Linked DNA regions of Homo sapiens: all the other regions are linked to region 4. The links are contacts of gene promoters, found by promoter capture Hi-C in blood cells and fetal thymus (Javierre and others, 2016). All regions are on one chromosome and are shown on one strand. The core of a region is centred on a gene start or on the middle of the fragment in contact, and the rest is flanking DNA. Distances in the headings are between cores, read along the strand shown.

Region 1 (3,321 bases), core at 5-2,504, 420 kb after region 4:
AAAACGAAAAGTAAATCTTTTGCAAATAATATCACAAAACTTCCAGCTGTGCACAAATACTGAAGGGCAATTTTGATGACAATGCAGGAAGCTTTCAAAGAAAGGATTTTTAAACATATTTTTTCCTTGGCGGAACTCTTTTTAGTAAGGATTTCCACCTTTGCCCCAGGATCCTGCCAATGTTCTTAGTCAAAGCCAGACCCGAGTTTCCTAGGATTCTTCGGTGAAACTGCATTGCCCCCTGGCGTTTGTGTGCTGTCATTACGCCGCACAGATAAAGCCCATGGAACACCTACCAATCCGAGGAAGGATGCAGCTCCTGGTTTCATCTACATGGAGAAACCTCTCTTAAAACACAGGATCAGAGAATGCAGTTCTAAATGGCAAATCTAGACTTGGTTTGACAAGACATGGAATGAAACTTTGAAATTAAAACTCCTTCCTTTTCCATCCTTAGCAGAATCTCCTGAGATGTTCAAGTAGCTCTGGAAAGAAACTGATCAGATTCTAATCTGTCAATTTAAAAAGTTTTTTTTTAAACAATTTTTAAATTTGTTTTAGAGATAGGGTCTTGCTGTGTCATTCAAGCTGCAGTGCAGTGGTGCAATCATAGCTCACTGCAATCTTGAACTCCTAGGCTCAAGGGAGCCTCCTGCCTCAGCCTCCGTAGTAGCTGCAACTACAGGCGCCCACCACTACACCCTGCTAATTTTCTTATTTTTAAATTTTTTTGTTTTGTTTTAGAGATGAGGTCTCACTGTGTTGTCCAGGCTGGTACTCCTGACCTCAAGTGATCCTCCTGCTTTGGCTTCCCAAAGCTCTGGGATTACAGGCCTGAGCCACTGTGCCCGGTTGCTAATTTGTCAATTTTTTTTTTTTTGGGAGTCAGGGTCTCACTCTGTTGCCCAGGCTGGAGTGCAGTGGTGCATCTCAGCTCACTGCAACCTCCACCTCCCAGACTCAAGCGATTCTCTTGCCTCAGCCTTCTGAGTAGCTGAGATTACAGACATGCGCCACCACCACCCAGCTTATTTTTGTACTTTTAGTAGAGGCGGGGTTTTACCATGTTGGCCAGGCTGGTCTCAAACTCCTGACCTCGAACGATCCACCTGCCTCGGCCTCACAGTCAACAAATATTGACTGTGCTGCTTACCATCCATGTGAACTTGGAAAACCCTCTTAACCTTTCTTTGTCTCCTCCACTTACAAAATGAGGCTGATAATAGTAGCATATACCATCTAGTACCTAGTAAACACCCTTTAAGTGTTTGTGAATGATGAGAACTATGTGAGTTTTCCACTCCGGTGGACTAGGGAAGATTAAAAAACATTCTGTGATGTTGAAAGGGCTTGGACTTGGTTCCTGGCCAAGTCTATTAAAACCCCAAAACACAAAGAAATGCTCCAGGTACTGCGGTTTCTACCTGGCCTCAGTGCAAACCTAGAATTAAGTACATCTCTGACACTTCCAGGTCGGTGTGACTGGACCTCTGAGAATATGCTGGGGCCTGAGAGGGTCCATTCTTGTCCACACCAGGGCAGAGTTCCACCCCCAAGGCTAGGCCAGAGCCGGAATGACTCCAGGAGTAAGGCCAAGGGTGGTCTTCCTTGGCCCAGGTTCCTCTAGAATATGCCACTGTGGCATAAAAATGATTTTGAGCTGAAGGCATTTGATAAGAGGCTTATTTCTAAACTCCTTATCTGCCCCAAAGCAGAACCTCCTCCCAAAACTCAATTGTCATAAATCCCTTCCCACAGATTTTTCTGCAACCAGAGAAAGTTGACTCTAATACCAAAGAGAAGCCCACAGCACACCTAAACAGGCATTGTCACAAAACTATCATCTCCCATCTATTCTCCTAAAGGCCCATGATCTTTCTTAAAAGTAATTTATTTTTCCTTAAGTGCCCTTCTCCTCCTCCCCTTCTCTTGTTCAGATGGCACATAAGCCCCAAATTGTAAGTGCCCCCTTGAGGCATATTTTCCTGAGAACTCCCATACATAATGAACAGAAGCCTGTCTTTTCTTTTGCAGCCCCCAAAACACTGAACTTAAGAGGGTAAAGGAACAGTTTTTCCTTCCTTCGTTTCTTCTTTCCTTCCTTCCATGTTTTCTAGAGACAGGGTCTCACACTGTCATCCAGGCTGGAGTGCAGTGGTGTGATCATAGCTCACTGCAGCCTCAAAGTCCTGAGCTCAAGTGATCCTCCCCCCTCAGCCTCCAAGTAGCTAGGACTACAGGCACATGCCACCACACCCAGCTAATTTTTTTAATTTGCAAATTTTTGTAGAGATGGGGGTCTCACTGTGTTGCCCAGGCTGGGGAAAAGTTTTTCATCTTCCGTACCTTCTTCTGTGCCTTTGGCAAAATACTGGACTCCACTGTGCAAAAAAAAATCTCTGCTCAGGCCTTCAAAACAAGCTTCACATCTTGTGCCAAGCTATCCTCAGTCGAAGCAGTGGTGGCAAATAGACGCACCATAAATGAGAAATAGAATGCTTGGCCCAGTGCACTGGCTCACGCATGGAATCCCAGCACTTTGGGAGGCCGAGGCAGGCAGATCACCTAAGGCCAGGAGTTCGAGGCCATCCTGGGCAACATGGTGAAACCCCGTCTCTACTAAAAATACAAAAATTAGCTGGGTGAGGTGGCAGGTGCTACTTGGGAGGTTGAGGTAGGAGATCGTTTGAACCTGGGAGGCGGAGCTTGCAATGAGCCGAGATCGCGCCACTGCACTCCGGCCTGGGCGACCGAGTAAGACTCTGTCTCAAAATAAATAAATAAATAAATTAAAAAGCAATAGAATGATCTACATAATATTTGACATGTTAATATTCGTACAGCATCTTTGAACAAAGGCTGACAAATACAAGTGATAAGTGTTTGTTAAATGAAAATAAATGTTGTACAATTTCAGTCTTTAAGAAAGACAACGCAGACTGGTATTAGGGTTCCAGACCTTCCAGATGTTTTTCTTATTTTGCACTGCATCTTTAAAATCTTGCGTATTATTGATAAGGAGTGCTGGGAAGGGAAGAGCGTGATGCCTTTAAATGATACGGAAGAGGGGAAGGGAAGTGCTGGGTAGAGGAGGGCGTGGTCCCTGGCTAGGGCTCTACCCCCACGGACCTAGGCGAGGACAGGCACTCCTGCCTTCCTGCCCAAATGTTGCATTTTCCAAGACCACCTTGGCCCACCACACCCCCAACCTGGGCCTATAAAAATTCGAGACCCTAGTAAGGAAAGAGACACAAGCGGCTGGACGTGTTGGGAAACACATCGGCAGAAGAAGACACGAGTGGTTATGTGTCTGGTCATTAG
Region 2 (3,136 bases), core at 108-2,607, 380 kb after region 4:
TTCTCCTGCCACAGCCTCCCGAGTAGCTGGGATTACAGGCGCGCACCACACCTGGCTAATTTTTGTATTTTTAGTAGAGATGGGCTTTCACTATGTTGGCCAGGCTGGTCTCGATCTCCTGACCTCAAGTGGTCCACCCGCCTTGGCCTCCCAAAGTGGTGGGATTACAGGCGTGAGCCACTGCGCCTGGCCTTGTGCTATATTCTTTTTTTTTTTTTTTTTTTGAGACGGAGTCTCGCTCTGTCACCTAGGCTGGAGTGCAGTGGTGTGATCTTGGCTCGCTGTAACCTCTGCCTCCCGGGTTCGAGCGATTCTCCTATTTCAGCCTCCCAAGTAGGTGGGATTATAGCCATGTGCCATCACACTCAGACGATTTTTGTATTTTCAGTAGAGACGAGGTTTGACCATGTCCGCCAGGGGTCTTGTACTCCTGACCTCAAGTGATCCACCCACCTCAGCCTCCCAGAGTGCTGGGATTACAGGCATGAGCCAGTGTGCCCAGCCTATTCTTAAAGAATAATTACAAAATGAAGATTCCGAAACCACCACGTAGGCCAAGCTATAGAATGCCTCCGAGCCTGCAGTTCACATTCCCCGTGCATCTTTTCCCTGTTACAAACCCCTCCTATCCCAGAAGTAACTAGTCTGCTGATATTTGTCATTATTTTCTTGCCTTTAGTATTTCTGCATGCATTCCTAAACAATATAGCTTGATTATGCCTGGTTTTGAACTTTAAATTAAAAGAAGCTTACTACATATATGTATTCTTTTGTATTTTGCTTCTTTTACTTAATGTTGTGGGTTGATTCACCTATATTGTAATTACATACAACTTGTCAATTTCCATTGCTATATGAAAATACCATTTCATTGCATGGAAATAAACAATAAAAATACATTTTACTATAGATGGATATTTAGGGTTTTTTTGGTATTTGAACAATGCCACCATGAATATTCCTGTCCTGTATTTGGCACACAAGTAAAAGACTTTTCTAGAAAATGTTCGGGTTGTTTGCTATGAGTTTCTTCATAATGTCAAATAATATTTTTAAAAATGTGGATATTGTCCCAACATACACTCCCATAACAGTGCATGAGAATTCCTATTGCTGCTGCATATCTTTGCCAACATTTGATATTGTTACACTTTATAATTTTTTGTGGCCAGGCACAGTGGCTCACACCTACAATCCCAGCACTTTGGGAGGCCAAGACAGGAGTTTGAGACTAGCCTGGGTAACACAGCAAGACGCCATCTCTAAAAAAATAAATAGCTGAGGTGGGAGGATCACTTGAACCTGGGAGGTTGAGGCTGCAATGAGCCATGATTGTGGCACTGCACTCCAGCTTGAGTGACAAAGTGAGGCTCTGTCTACAAACAAATAAATAAAAATAAAAAATAGGCTGGGCGCGGTGGCTCAACCCTGTAATCCCAGCACTTTGGGAGGCTGAGGCGGGCGGATCACGAGGTCAGGAGATCGAGACCATCCTGGCTAACACGCTGAAACCCTGTCTCTACTAAAAATACAAAAAAATTAGCCGGGCGTGTTGGTGGGCGCCTGTAGTCCCAGCTACTCGGGAGGCTGAGGCAGGAGAATGGCGTGAACCCGGGAGGCGGAGCTTGCAGTGAGCCGAGATCGCGCCACCGCACTCCAGCCTGGGCAACAGAGTGAGACTCTGTCTCAAAAAATAAATAAATAAATAAATAAAAATAAATAAAAAATAATGAAATAATTTTTTGCTAACCTGGTAGGTGTGTATTGGTATCTCACTGTGGATTTAATTTACTTATTTTGGATTCCTAATGAGATGAGCACTTTTTGCAGGTTTTGATATTTCGATGTCCCTTTCTTGTGAAGGGCAAAGTTTGAACACAATAGGCAAATGTAGCAATCTTTTTAAAAATTTTCATGCTCTTCATATTTTATTTCAGAAACTTCCCCTACCCCCATATCATTTTGGGAAGCTTTATTGTTTGGCCTTTCACATTTAGGTCTTAAATTCAACTAGAATTGCTTAGGAGGGCTGGAGTATAAAGTTGTAATGGTTAATTTTATGTGTCAACTTGACTGGGCCATGTGGTACCCAGACATTTGGCCAAATATTATTCTGTGTGTGTCTGTGATGGTGCTTCCAAGTGAGAGTATTACATTGGAATCAGTAGACTGAGTACAGCAGATTGCTCTCCCCAGTGTGGTTGGGCCTCATTCAATCAATTGAAGACCGGAATAGAATAAAAAGACTGAATATGAGAGAATTTCTCCTGTCCGACTGGTTAAGTTGGGGCATCGGTTTTTTCCAGCCTTCAGACTTGGCCTGAAACATTGGTCCTCCTTGGGTTGTGAGCCTGCAGGTCCTCAGACTGAAACTATCCATCAGCTCTCCTGGTTCTCAGGCTCCTGGATTCAAGCTGGAAGTACACATCAGGTCTCCTGGGTCCTCAGCTTGATGACTCGAGATCTTGGGAATTCTCGGCCTCTATAACTGTGTGCCCCAATTCCCTATAATAAATCTTTGTCTTTCTCTCTCTCCTGTTGTCTCTGTGTCTCTGAAGAACCCTGGCTAATACAAAGGTATAGTCCAATTTTATTTTATTTTTTTTCCAAATAAATACTCCTCAGTGACAGCACCATCTACTGAATATTGTCCCTTCCCCACTGAATTGCAAAGATGCCTCTCAAGCTTCCATATGAGCACGGGACTATTTCTGTAATCTGTAGTCTGTTCTGTTGGGCTACTGCCCTGTCCTTGTGCTAACACCATGTCTTATTACTATAGGCTAATTATGAATCTTGATGCTCAATAGGGCAAATCCTCTAATTTTGCTGCTTTTCAAGAGTATCTTGGCTGTATGTGGCACTTTGCAAAAACTAAAACACAACAACAACAACAAAATTCAGGTTTTTGGTTGATATTGCATTAAATTTATAGATCAGTTTTAAGTGAATTGACACCTTTCTAATTTGCAGTTTTGAATCTTTTTATTTATTTTTTATTTTTATTTTTTTTATGAGACTGAGTCTCCTTCTGTCGCCCAGGCTGGGGTGCAGTGGTGCAATTTCGGCTCATTGCATCCTCTGCCTGCTGGGTTCAAGCAATTCTCCTGTCTCAGCCTCCCAAGTAGCTGGGACT
Region 3 (3,450 bases), core at 816-3,315, 490 kb before region 4:
TTGGGGTTAAAGAAATTACATCAATGTATGTTTCAAAATTAAAGATTGATGCTATTGAAAAAGAGTAGTCTACATTGTGATGTTTCTTAACATTTTAAGATGCCTACACATTAAAATTATTTCATCTGAAGGACAGTAGCACAAGGCAGAAGCTATTAAATATGAGGGGATAATATAGAAAATGAGATAGTAAAGAGATAGGATTGATAGACTGCTTGAAAGAGAGTGGAGAGTTAGAGGGTCTAGAACAGTGCTGTCCAGTGGAAAGATCATACCTGGTGTTTCTGCTTTCTAGTAGCTACATTTAAAAGCTAAAAAGAAATAAGTAAAATTCTAATGTTTTTAACCTAATATATCAAAAGTTACCATTTCAACATATATTCAATAGTTTAAAAATTATTGCTAGGATTTTACGTTCTTTTATCTTACCAAGTCTATGAAATTTGGTGTTTATTTTACACTGTATATCAGTTCAGACCAGCCACATTTCAAGTGCCCAGTAGTCACACATAGCCATTGGCTACCATATTGGATAATGCAGATCTGAAATAAATCTAAAATTGGGAACTAAAGTTTATCAGTGTCCTGATATAATAATCTACTTCAACATTTATGGTTCATTTTAATCATTGGTTTTGGAAACTATCTTGCTTAATTAATCCTGAATCTTTGCTTGCTTAATTTAGACCATCAGTCCAATCAAGTTGGTATTATCTTTAAATAATATCACCATAAAGTTCTACTGTGTGTCTTTTAATAATGGGGTGTCTTTCCACTGTCACTAATCTCACATTGTACCTTACATGTATTATGAAGATATAAACGTGTGTATATATACCTGTATGTTTATAAATGGAATCCAGATACACATTCAGTTTAGGTATATAATAAGCTTTCCTCCTAAGTATACTATGTTAAATTTTGTCATTTTCCCCTCTCCCCTTCTCTCCTACTCCCCTTTCTAGGCAGAAACATTTAGTTGTAATAAAATAAAAGATAATGACAAAGAAGATGGCTGCTTCTATTTCAGGTATTTCTCAAAACATTTCATATTTTGAATACATATCTTGTTACAAAGTAATTCAACCCTGGAGATATATGTGGGCTCACCTGAGGAAAAGTAATTTATGATCAAATAGAAATGTTAGTGTCTCTAAATTTTTCTCAGTTTTTTGGGAAAAGGTGTGTTTTCGTTTTTAAGCATTAAATTGGTTTTAAGCTTTGTAAATTGTAATTGTATTTGCTTTTGAAACTATCGAAGCCATCAGAAGAATTCTTTTATGTTGTCAGGGCACTTTATAACTTCTTATTATATAGGAGGTTTCTATAAAGATTAGACTGGCTTTTAACATTTCTGTGACTTTGAGCATGTTGCTGCTTCATTCTGGACCTCCATTTTCAAATCTAAAAACATTATGTGTTAAGTTTCTTTACAAATCCTTTATCATCAATAGGGTCAAAATGCTCATTATATTTGTTCAGTGCTTTTTCAGACTAATTGGTAAAGGACCAATCATGGAAGCTCCACCCCTTACCTCTTCCAGTTATTACCGTCTTCCTTCCTGTTGTGCATGCCATGCACACACTCATGTAGACACACACATGCACACACCACAAACCCTCTCCTGATTTGGTCTTATTTAGAGTTCCGTTTATCTTAGCATACATCTCTATAGTCTCTGATTTAGTTGTGCCCATTTTTGAACTTGATATACAATTATTTTCCTTTGCATAAGACTTCTTTCACTCAGCATCATGAGATTCTGTGGCATATAGCTATAAATTCATTCATTTCCATTGCTGTATAGAAGTCCATTGTGTGAACACACTACTATTTTCCATTCTGTTAATGGCTATTTGCATTTTCAATTTTGGGCTATTACAAATAATCTTTATAACACTGGTGCTCATATAAAAGTAAAATTGCTGGGTCATAAGTTCATAGATGTGTATATTTAAATATAGATGTGTATGTTAGATGTTAAATATAGATGTTAAACATAGATGTGTGTGTTTAACTTGAGTAGCTTGAGGGTTTATTTCTTTTTAATACATAGCCTTGCTAGAGTGCAATGCCTAGAGTGCAGTGGCTCACTGCAACCTCTGCTTCCCTGGCTCAAGCGAGCCCCCTGCCTCAGCCTCCCAAGTAGCTAGGACTACAGGAATGTGCTGCCATGCCCAGCAAATTTATTTATTTATTTATTTTGTGTGTGTGTGGAGACTGGGTTTCACCAAGTTGCTCTGGCTAGTCTCGAACTCCTGAGCTCAAAGCCATCTGCCCACCTCAGCCTCCCAAAATGGTGGGATTACAAGCATGAGCCACCGTGCCCGGCCCTTCCCAACACGGTTTTGTGGGTCTTTTCAGGTGTAATCTTCTGGTGGACATGTAATAGAGTGGCATCACACTTACTCTTAATTTGCATTTCCCTGTTTATCATATATTTATTGGCCACTTAGATTACCTTTTGTGAAGTGCCTTTTTTGAGTATCTTAATAACTTTTGTATTATTTTTTATATTAATTTGTAGGAGTTCTTTATATATTAGAGATACAAGCCTTTTGTTTAGACATCTTTGCCTATCCTGTGGCTTGCTTTCTCATTTTATGATATCTTGAACAGCAGTGGTTAATTTTTATATAAGCAAATGTGTTAATCATCTTTTTTATAGTTGATCTTCTTTGTGTCCTGTTTAAGTCTTTCCTTACATTTAGGTCATCAACACATTTTACTATATTATTGTGTTGGGGGTTCCCAATACCAATGCCAGGTTTGATGATTCACCAGGAGGACTCACAGGACTTAATATATAGCTGGGCTCATAGCTATGTTTTATTGAAACAAAAGGATTCAAAGTGAAATGAGCAAGGTAAAAAGCTCATGGGGTGATGTCCAAGGGAAAGCAGACACAGAGGAAGCTTTCCAAGGATTCTGTCTTGGTGAAGTCACAGAGTATGTGCTTAATTCCCCAACAATAAATTGTGACAATGCGTATAAAATGTTGTCAACCAGGGAAGCTCACTGGGGACTCAGCATTCAGGGTTTTTGTTAGGGTGTGGTCACATAGGCAGCCTCTGCCTAGCAAATACCAGATTTTCAGAAGAAAAGCAAGTGTGTAGCATAAACCATATTAGTGCAGTGGTTTAGGCAATGTGAGCCACTCATATCAGTTAAAGGTGAGAACCCTCCTGAAATCTAAACTCACAGATGTCTGCGAAGGGCCCATCTTGCAAGCAGACAAGTGCTTCTAAGGATAGCACTTTAGGTTTGCTGTGTTCTTTTTATACAGTTATACGTGGAATTGATTTTTTTTTTTTTTAATGTATAGTGTGAGGCCAGGTGCGGTGGCTCACACCTATAATCCCAGCACTTTGGGAGGCAGAGGCAGGCAGATCACATGAGGTCCATCGTAAATGATATCTCCTAAAACATTTTTATTTTCTGTTGTTTTT
Region 4 (3,255 bases), core at 1-2,500:
GTTAACTTTGGAATACGTTAGTGGTTAATACACGGAACGTTCCCGAGATCCCTCAAGAAAGAAGCTACGAATACTTAGAAGATACTATTCCGCGGCGTTTACAGCAACACTGTCCGTTCCAGAAGGATTCAAGTGGCGGCCTGCTTTGAAGGCGAAGACCACAGGGCAACCCAAACTTCAGAAGGGTTCTGGCCACGGGAGCCACACTGGTCACTGTCCCCTAGTGCTGGGATGACGGCTCGAGTGTTAGAGGATCCCACTCTCTCCTCTGGTAGGTGAGGTCAGAGAGCTGAGGGGGCCAGAACAAGTCTTCCTTATCGGATTCTGGGCGGAAAAAGATAAAGTCGGGGAGGACTTTCTCTTTTTAATAAGATTCATCGTTACGAATTGTTCTAGGCAAGCAGACCTCAGGAGAAATAGGCCCAAGTTTTGATTCCTGTTTTCACCAAGTCGCAAGTCCTAATCGTAGCAAGAGGTGCGGGGAAGAGTCGCCTTCCTTCCTGCATAGTGGGATCCAAGTCAGGCTGTCCTTGTTAGCCAGGGTCAAAGGGGCTCTGCCAGGGAAAAACGACGGCAAATGTTTTTCAAGAGGAAGTCTCCAGCCACTTGTGACCTGGGAAATCCGTCTGGGCCAAAAAGATAGTGGAGGCTTGGCTGAGGGCCCCAGGGACACACGTTTCCTCCCGTATGGAGGGGGCGGGACTCTTAATAAAATTACACTGCACACAGAGCTAGCATCAAGATCCGCTCCCGGGATACGCGCACTGCTCCGGGGCCCTCAGGCGGAGACCCAGACCCCGCGCGGGGCGTCAAGCGCAGGCGCACTACCGCCCACAAGCTGGAGCCCGGCTTCGGGGCGGGGCGAGGGTCAGTCACGTGGGCCCGCAGCCCTCTCCTCGATTTCCCTACAAGGACTTGGGCCGACGGGCCCCGCCCTTCGCCGTGCCCTGGAATGTGCGGCCAGGCAAAGCCACAGGACGGACGCAACCATCTGCGGAAAGGATAGGGGGGAGGAAGACTTAACACTGCAACAACAGGTACAAAAAAGAAGGAAACTCAGTAACAGGACCCAGAGGACCATTATATATTGCTCTATATTCTAGGTCGCCCACTTTACACTTCCTTCTCATGCACTTGGTCAATACCACGCCCGCTGACCACACTGGCGACTTCCCTCTCTGTCGCCCCTCCGTGAAGTCAGACCCACTCTGCGGGCCAAGAAAGGTGACCGGGCTTCCTTCCGGCTTGCTAAGCAGAGGCCGGAAGCGGTGGTTTTTAGCGGCTCTCTGGGTAGCAGGGTGGTGTGATAGCGGCAGCGAGGGGCTCGGAGAGGTGCTCGGATTCTCGTAGCTGTGCCGGGTGAGTGGCGCTCGCGTTCGGGCGCGTGAGACCCATCCCGGGGACCCGTCTCCGCGGGGGCAGCTGGAGGGCGGCGGGGCTCCTGGCGCCGGTAGCGCACCTGGGCAGGTGTGCCAGCCAGGTCCCCGGTTCTGGGATCCGAGGCCATGGCTTGGAGTGGCCCAGACCCGAACTTCGCTCCTGTGCCCAAACTTGGAACTCTGGAAATGTGGCTTCGCTCACTGGCGCCTTGAGCTTGGGCGACTGCCGGGCCCGCGAAACCCGACCCCTGCAGAGCTGACTCCGGGACTATTTTAGTTTCTAACGTCAACTTGCCCGATTCAAGAGGGTTTGCGCAAAAACGTAGCCCGTTGTCCCCCTGCTGCAGCTGTTGTTGCAGCTGTGTGGCTGCGTTTAGTAGGAATAACCAACTCAAATTGGGAAGTTCTTCAGCTCAGTATCCGCTCCTGTAATTAGAACTTTTTTTCTTTAAGCGATGAAATTTTGGACAGAGAGATCTGGAGTTTAGTTTGTGACTCGAAGAAAAACTCCAAAATGTAATACCTTGTCCCATTTGGGGGGAAAGTTTGGGCTAATTCAATTCGCCATGGAAGTGTCTTCTTTTTAAAGTAGTTTAGTAGGTATATGAATGTATCTGTCAGTTCTTGAGAGACCTATGGATTTAGCAGAGATTTTAACTTAAGTGCAAAAAGTTTCATATTTAAAGGCGAATAAAGCGAATATTTCTTAAAATTATTGGTATTTGTTTCATGTTCTGGAAGGGCTCTAATAAACGGTAATCAGAAAAGCACTCTATTTTCAAAAGCGAGGCTTTACTGGCAAGTCAGCCCTCACAGCTAATTGTCTTTGTCCAGTGGTGAGAACTTTTGGGTGTGGCAGTCCAAGAGAACGAATCCTACCTTCAACCGGAAGTTTGCATAAGAAATGAAACTTGGTTTACTTGGAACGGAAGCACCAACTTGAAATACACTTTTTAAAAATTGTGGTTAGCACCAGAAAATAAGTTATACTTAGGCTTTTTTTTTTTAAGTGCATTGATTAAATGAGGCGGTATATTTGGTCAGGGTTTAGAAAGCCCACCAAATACTAGGTGCTATCACAGTACGCAGTGTTTTGTAAGATGGTGGTTTTTTCTTGCAGAATGTGTGATATTTCTCAGAATATTATCAATTTGAGTGTTCGTTTTGTAGAAGAAGTTTCTAGGTTATTTTACATTTATTGCCACTTTGTAAATAAATGCTGGACTCTAGGATTCTAACCACAGAACTCTAATGTATATATTGGTATGGATTAATCCCATTTTATAAATGAACATAGTTTCTAGAGATTCTGAAAACTTCTTGTGTCCTTTGGTGTGTGGGGAAAGCCACTTTGAGAATCTCTTCTATTTCTCCCACCTATTAATCTAGTCTAACATTTTCCTTAATCATGTTGTGTATCTCTCGTTACAGCCCACAATGATTCTGAGCTAAAACACAAAATAAAAACCAGATTCATTGCCACCAGCGCTCACCTCGCCTGACTTAAAAAAAAGGTTATGCTCCTTTAGATCTGTAAACTCAGTCTCCTAACTGCCCTTCATCCACTTTCTCATGCATCTGAAATCCTCATATTTTGTAGAAGCCTGTTCTGTAAGTCTCTCTACTTTCCAGTTTCGTACAACAGACACTCCTTGACACCAAGGATCTTTCACTTAATCCCTCAAAAATAAAGACTCGAGCTGGGTGCGGTGGCTCACGCCTGTAATTCCAGCACTTTGGGAGGCCGAGGCAGGTGGATCACGAAGTCAGGAGTTCAAGACCAGCCTGCACAAGGTGGTGAAACCCCGTCTCTACTAAAAATACAAAAATTAGCTGGGCATGGTGGTGGGTGCCTGTAATCCCAGCTACTCCAGAG

What was found. Contacts are between HindIII fragments. The CHiCAGO score rates a contact against its expected background, and 5 or more counts as called.
Region 1: a contact is called between a fragment that was not itself captured here and the fragment with the promoter of MYL12A in region 4, in 14 of 17 cell types (naive B cells, total B cells, total CD8 T cells and 11 more). The highest score is 10.2, in naive B cells.
Region 2: a contact is called between a fragment that was not itself captured here and the fragment with the promoter of MYL12A in region 4, in 1 of 17 cell types (endothelial precursors). The highest score is 6.5, in endothelial precursors.
Region 3: a fragment that was not itself captured here is called in contact with the fragment with the promoter of MYL12A in region 4 in 1 of 17 cell types (neutrophils); the score reaches 5.1 in neutrophils.

The regions. Positions count from the first base shown.
Region 1 is chr18:3,666,215-3,669,535 of GRCh38, forward strand. The region is part of intron 7 of DLGAP1 (DLG associated protein 1); the gene reads right to left. Among named protein-coding and RNA genes, the nearest start is that of DLGAP1-AS6, 15 kb to the left of the region's middle. The HindIII fragment of the contact is 2,330 bases long and covers 90-2,419 here.
Region 2 is chr18:3,627,984-3,631,119 of GRCh38, forward strand. All of the region lies in intron 7 of DLGAP1 (DLG associated protein 1), which reads right to left. Among named protein-coding and RNA genes, the nearest start is that of DLGAP1-AS6, 23 kb to the right of the region's middle. The HindIII fragment of the contact is 1,222 bases long and covers 747-1,968 here.
Region 3 is chr18:2,751,523-2,754,972 of GRCh38, forward strand. SMCHD1 (structural maintenance of chromosomes flexible hinge domain containing 1) reads left to right here. Exons shown (of 48, transcript NM_015295.3): 34 at 966-1,030. Among named protein-coding and RNA genes, the nearest start is that of EMILIN2, 94 kb to the right of the region's middle. The HindIII fragment of the contact is 1,697 bases long and covers 1,218-2,914 here.
Region 4 is chr18:3,246,551-3,249,805 of GRCh38, forward strand. MYL12A (myosin light chain 12A) reads left to right here and starts at 1,251. Exons shown (of 4, transcript NM_006471.4): 1 at 1,251-1,359. It also overlaps a transcript of MYOM1 not described here. RefSeq lists enhancers at 958-1,187, 2,320-2,389 and a silencer at 1,478-1,557. The HindIII fragment of the contact is 13,247 bases long and covers 1-3,255 here.